Regions from separate parts of the Homo sapiens genome. Here region 1 is linked to region 2. The links are contacts of gene promoters, found by promoter capture Hi-C in human tissues and cell types (Jung and others, 2019). All regions are on one chromosome and are shown on one strand. The core of a region is centred on a gene start or on the middle of the fragment in contact, and the rest is flanking DNA. Distances in the headings are between cores, read along the strand shown.

Region 1 (3,325 bases), core at 615-3,114, 410 kb before region 2:
GAGGTGACAGCTGCAAAGTACTTAGAAGAGTAAGTGCTGGGTATCAGCTAGTAATTCTTCCACCAAGGGTATCACATTGGCTCAGGCTGCATAATCTAATGGTAGCTACAGTCTTGTTTTGCTTTGAAGTTGAAATATTATTTATATGAATATTTTATCTGTTTTGCAAAGAGCAAGATCAGTTCCCTTCCTTCACTTGGGGGCTCCTCTGACATTGTCGACTGATCCATTGGGGTCAAGGTCGGTTCTGGGGAAGGGGCTGATGGGGCAGAGGTACCCCTGAGAGCTGGGGATAGGAGCTTCCAGAATCACAGCTTCTGTTGAACATTCACAGAGGAGGGCTGCAGTTTTATTTGACAAGCAATTGAACCTGGACCTAGATTTTAAAAACAAACTCTCGCTAATTTTTTTCTTTCTTTCCTTCTTCTTTATTTCATTTTTTATTTTTTTGGATTGTAGTGAGGGAGGAGGTAAGGATAGGCAATATTTTAAGTGATAAAAAAATAAATTATATTCCTCTTGCCCAGAGGCTACTAGCATCATTTTGATGGTGTTCTTCATCCCAGCAAAATCATATCAATCTATGGAGGGTTTAGAGCAGTTTGTCTGCTCTGGACATCTCACCTCCATGCCCAGCACTCCATTTCCTTTCCATCTGAGGCCTTAAACCCACTAGCATCATAAGCTTGGAAGCCTCCTAGCTTTGCCCCAGCTTCCAATTTTAGCCCATATTTCATGGGTTCAGGGTGGGAAAAAAAGACATAACTCTGCAGGTTCCGAATACTGCCTAAAAATCTTGATGGGGCACATCGAAGTCACAGACATGGGTCCTCTCTGGTCCTGGGGACCACCCTGTATGCCCTAGGATATGTCCTAATTTGCCTTTGTCACTGTAGAAGGCATAGGACGACACAGTTTTCATATATCCCCCACCCCCAATACTAGTGCTCACAAGTCTTGGGAAGTGGTCATGTGCACTGTTCAGAGTTTGGAAATTAAATAGCTGTGTTCCTTCTCTTTCCTCCTACCTTTAGTTCTTGGTATTGTTAATTAACTCCCTGCACCCAGCGTACTACCAGGCCCCTCAAAGGCGTATGCCATAGCGGTGAAGGCTGCAGGGTTCCATCCAGCTCCTCCACTAACCAGCTGCATCATCTTACACAAGATATTCAACCTCTCTGAGCCCATTTTTCTCCTCTGTAACATGGATATAATAATAGCATGCCTACTTCATGGAATTATTGAAACACAAAAGGAAATATATGTAGGCTATGTGTATATTTATAGAGAGAGACAAATTTACTTATGAGACTAATGAGACTATATATTATAAACATGAAATGAGTTTTTATGTAGTATATTAGTTCATTTCTAAAATTATTTCTCATTGTAAAGTTTGTATAGTTGAGATGCATCGTGCACATTGATGAATGTGATAATTTGCCTTCCAATACTGGTACTCTCCCCCAAAGCTGTTATTAAATCAAGGGCATTCTCTAAATTAATGGTATCTTAGAATCAAGGAAATATGGCACAATGCCTGGCAAACACTAAGTGGCCAATAGTTGCAGGTTATTGTTACATCAGGTGATCTAGAAACATTAAGAGCTTGACTGTAAAGAGAAGAAACAAAAGAGAAATCGTTTCACTTATAATAAAGCCTCAGAGAAAAGGCTGGGGAAAATGCAGCCAGGAACATGATCTAAGGTGGCTGCCGGGAAATTTTCTTGGCAGATTTCATCTGTCAGTTACAATCTGCCGAGCACTGCTCTGTGCCAGACACTGTGCTAGGAACCAGGGGGCATAATGAGATAGGAATGCTGCCCTTGAGGAAGGCGGGCTACTGGAGGTGATAAGGCACGGGTACCCCTGCCTGATAAGAGAGCTGATGGGGCTGCTTCCAGAGTTCCTGCCCAGGAACCCGGGGAAAGGTCCTGCAGCCTGTCCAGCCAGCGCTTCGCAGGTTGCACCTCACCCAGCCCCCGCACGGCTAGGCCTGGGGGCCGTAAGAGAAGTAGGCAGCTTCTCTGGCAGCTGTGGTGGCCAAAAACAAACGTCCCGTGGAAAAGGGGCCAAGGATTCAGAATGCAAAGTGCCTAAGCCACAGAGGAACAGAGGAAGGAGGTCTCTAAGGGCGCATGGACTGGTGTTTCCCAGACTGTGGTCTCCAGGGACACACTAGCCGGCTAGTGCCTGCCAGCTCACCTGCTTCTCTTCTTTGCCCCTCCAGCACGCCCGTCCTCAGAGTCCCGTCCTCAAAGTCCCATCCTCGCCATGGCACCCGGAGAGAAGATCAAAGCCAAAATCAAGAAGAATCTGCCCGTGACGGGCCCTCAGGCGCCGACCATTAAAGAGCTGATGCGGTGGTACTGCCTCAACACCAACACCCATGGCTGTCGCCGCATCGTGGTGTCCCGCGGCCGTCTGCGCCGCCTCCTCTGGATCGGGTTCACACTGACTGCCGTGGCCCTCATCCTCTGGCAGTGCGCCCTCCTCGTCTTCTCCTTCTATACTGTCTCAGTTTCCATCAAAGTCCACTTCCGGAAGCTGGATTTTCCTGCAGTCACCATCTGCAACATCAACCCCTACAAGTAAGAGGCATGAGCAGGGAAACGCGAGTAGGGAGCCAGGCCCCCCACAGAGGCCAAAGCCCCTCCCGAAAGTGACACACTGGCAGCCTGGAGGTCGATTCCAGCCTACAAATGTGCTTTCTAGAAATTTGAATTTGTTGCTAACGCTGGTAAACAGCCCCCTCCCCAGTTCTAAATCTGTATGTACCAAGTTTTCAGACCATCAGTGACTTGTTTTTTTTCTTTTCTTTTTCCTTTTTTGAGATGGAGTTTCGCTCTTGTTGCCCAGGCTGGGATGCAGTGGTGCGATCTCGGCTCACTGCAACCTCCACCTCCCAGGTTCTAACAATCCTCCCGAGTAGCTGGGACTACAGGGGTGTACCACAGCGCCAGGCTAATTTTTTTGTGTTTTTAGTAGAGACAGGATTTCACCATGCTTGGCCAGGCTGGTCTTGAACTCCTGACCTCAGGTGATCCACCCGCCTTGGCCTCCCAAAGTGCTTGGATTACAGGTGTGAGCCACAGTACCTGGCCTTTTCTTTTTTTTTTTTTTTTTTTGGAGGCAGGGTCTCACTCTGTCACCCAAGCTGGAGTGCAGTGGTGCAATCATAGCTCCCTGCAGCCCCGACCTCCTGGGCTCAAGCAATTCTCCTACTGCAGCCTCCTGAGTAGCTGGGACTATAGGCACATGCCACCACATCCAGCTAAAATTTTTTATTTTTTAAGAGATGGGGTCTCGCTATGTTACTCAGGCT
Region 2 (3,350 bases), core at 570-3,069:
CGCGTGCCACCACGCCCGGATAATTTTTTGTATGTTTAGTAGAGACGGGGTTTCACTGTGTTAGCCAGAATGGTCTCGATCGCCTGACCTCGTGATCCGCCCGCCTCGGCATCCCAAAGTGCTGGGATTACAGGCATAAGCCACCGCGCCCGGCCTAATTTCTGTATTTTTTGTAGAGACGGGGTTCCACCATGTTGCCTAGGAGGGTCTCAAACTCCTGGGCTCAAGCGATTCGCCCGCCTCGGCCTCCCAAAGTGCTGGGATTACAGGCGTGAGCCACCACGCCTGGCCAGACACACTTATTTTTCACACTAACATGCAGTCAAGGTTGAAACCACTATTACCTGAAGTCTATGACTTTGAAAAGGGGTTTCATAACTTGACCTTGGGAGTCTATCCTACCTTAAGACGGTTATTTTTATTCCCAACTGCACTTCAGAGTCATCTGGAGAACTTAGAAAACAACAAAAAAAAGGCAGGGCGCGGTGGTTCACGCCTGTAATCCCAGCACTTTGGGAGGCCGAGGCGGGTGGATTGCGAGGTCGGGAGTTCAAGACCAACCTGGCCAATATGATGAAACCCCGTCTCCACTAAAAATACAAAACTTAGCCGGGCATGGTGGCGGGCGCCTGTAGTCCCAAATACTCGGGGGGGCTGAGGGAGGAGAATTGCTTGAACCTGAGAGGCGGAGGTTGCCGTTAGCCGGAGGTTGCAGTGAGCTGAGATCACGCCACTGCATTACAGCCTGGGTGACAGAGCGAGACTCTGTCTCAAAAACAACAACAACAACACCGAAATCACTGCCTCCCGGCGTTTCAGCCTCACGCAGATTTCATCAGCTCAAGCTATATACTACAGGTACAGTCGTTCCTTGGTATTTGCGCAGATTGGTTCCAGGACCCCCGACTATACCCAAATCCCCGCACACTCACGTCCCGCAGTCAGCCTTGCAGAATCCGCTTATAGGAAGAGCCTGCCCTCCTTATACGCGGGGCGGCACATCCCGTAAATACTGGTCGCGTTTGGTTGAAAAAAAATCCGCATATAAGTGGACCCGCGCAATTCAAATCCTTATTGGTCAAAGGTCACTTGGCTTGTTTCCTAGAATTACTTCCAGGAGTCCTGGACACAGGCAGAAGGTGCTGCAGGGAAGAGTAAGGACAGAACTGCAGAGAGAAAACCGCTCTGGAGAAGGCTGTAGGCCAGTGTGGCTGCCTCTTTGCATGCTGCTTTCACTACAATACGGTGACCGCTATTTTGAGACCGTACGAGGTGCTCTAGCCGCATTAACTCATCTAATCCTCATTGCTACTCCGCAAGGTAGAGACCAGGATCCCAATTTTGCAGGTGAGTGTGAGCCAGGCTAGGAGACTTGTCCAAAGTTTCGGTAAGCGGCAGCCCAGCAGTGCTGGACTCGAGTCAGTGCTCTTGCTCGTTATTACGAGGTCACCCGGCCTCCCGTCAGGGGTCAACTAAACACCTTTAGGCAGCGGGGCTGCGGAGCGAGCCGGCTGCCCCCCGGGTCACCCCTGCCTGCAGCTGGCGCGCCCCGGATGCCCGGCCCCCACCCCCACCGGGCCCAATCCCTGACCCTTGCCAAGCGGCAGCAAAGTCACCACGAGTCACCTGCGCGAGCACTAAGGCCGGCTGCAAAGTCCCGAGCCTCGTCTGGGTCCCCGCGGAGCAGAGAGCGGTGCTGAGAGGCCGGGCCACGGCCAGCATCCGGACCCGGGGCAGCGGCGCAAAGGCCGCGGGCAGGCGGCTGACATAGGCTGAAAGGACACGAGACGCCATGGCTACGCCAACCCAGGATGCACTGCGCCGCCGCCTCCGGACCAGGGTTCCTTTCCGGCGGCGCGCAGGCGACGCACACGGCAGCGCTGTCGGGCACCGCCGGCGGTGGCGGCCCCTGGCGGCTCCTGGAGGCACTGCGCCCTCGGAGCCCATCCAGGTTCGGGGACGAACAACTGCTTGGTGTCACAACTAAACTGTGCAGACGTCGCCGTCTTTCCCTAAACGACACGGCACGAGAAACCTACTTTCATTTTTTATCTGAAAGTTCTGAAATACATCTGTTTAAACGTTTGGGGCCGGGTGCGGTGGCTGACGCCTTTAATCCTAGCACTTTGGGAGGCCAAGGTGGCAGGACTGTTTGAGCTCAGGAGTTCAAGACCAACCTGGCCAACACGGCAAGACTCCGTCTCTATTACAAAAAAGATTAAAAGAAAAAAAGGACAAAGTTTTGATTCCACAATTCTTCCACAAGTATTAACATTTATTGAATAGGTAAAAAAATATATATAATAATGTGAAAAAATAATCAATTTCAATACCTAAGACTAATAAATGTGAGAATTACGATTAAAACAATATACATGTTTTAAAACTTGACAGTGTATAATATAGCTGTCAGGTCCACGACTATGCCAACTGTCATGCCCACAGCCAGGTTCCAGCCCATATCGAGGTCTGAGGGGAGTGGGTGGATGAACAGATAGCTGAAAGAACACTCAGGGGACGGTAGGCAGGTGAAAGATGATTTTATTCAGCAGCAGCTCTCATCAGCAGCTTACTTACACTAGTTCTCTCACACTGTCTGCCTTGTCTCAGCTGCTTAGTCCCATGGCTCCCCCACACAACTGCGAGGCTGGCTCTCCCTTGCCTTCAGGGTCAGCAGCTTAACTCTCTCTCAGCTGTGATCTGGCTCCCCCTGTCTGTCTGCAAAGACTGACAGCTCTGGCTCTCTCTTTCTCTGGGCACGAACGCCTGTACAGTATCAGCAGGGCAATTATACCTTTTACAGAAAATAGTGGCTTAGAGCCAAGTGATGACCTTCCCATGTTATGCCTACATGGCTGTGATAACAAGTGGAGTTATACGCCTCTGTCTAAACTTGCTGAGTCACGCAGGATGTAAACATCTTACCTTGGCCTATCCTTGACCAAAGCACAGCCATGTTCCTTACAATAGCTAACAAAAATAGGTAAGCGAGGGAGGAGTTTAAGAAGGCTAATTCCTATTTCTAAGCAGGGAGCTAAAGGATATTGACTGAAATGGAAACACACGGGATAATGACTCCAAATTCTGAAATCTGCCTGAATGAATGATCCAATAATGTCACCAGTTTTACCTCAATTTCTTTTTATTTTTGTTAAATCCAAGTAAAATAAAATGTAATGGTATGCTGCCAGGCGCGGTGGCTCATACCTGTAATCCCAGCACTTTGGGAGGCCAAGGTGGGTGGATCACGAGGTCAAGAGATCGAGACAATCCTGGTCAACATGGTGAAACCCCATTTCTACTAAAAATACAAAAATTAGTTGGGTGTGGTGGTGCGCGCCTGTAGTCCC

What was found. Contacts are between HindIII fragments. The study calls those that stand out against the background at their distance.
Region 1: a contact is called between a fragment that was not itself captured here and the fragment with the promoter of NDUFAB1 in region 2, in 1 of the 25 tissues and cell types used here (lymphoblastoid cells).

What each region holds. Positions count from the first base shown.
Region 1 is chr16:23,183,998-23,187,322 of GRCh38, forward strand. SCNN1G (sodium channel epithelial 1 subunit gamma) reads left to right here. Exons shown (of 13, transcript NM_001039.4): 2 at 2,231-2,591. The coding sequence starts at 2,275. Among named protein-coding and RNA genes, the nearest start is that of SCNN1G, 2.9 kb to the left of the region's middle. RefSeq lists enhancers at 1,755-2,256, 2,257-2,756. The HindIII fragment of the contact is 3,555 bases long and covers 88-3,325 here.
Region 2 is chr16:23,594,497-23,597,846 of GRCh38, forward strand. It overlaps NDUFAB1 (NADH:ubiquinone oxidoreductase subunit AB1), which reads right to left and starts at 1,820. Exons shown (of 5, transcript NM_005003.3): 1 at 1,627-1,820. The coding sequence starts at 1,794. RefSeq lists a silencer at 1,478-1,567. The HindIII fragment of the contact is 9,015 bases long and covers 1-3,089 here.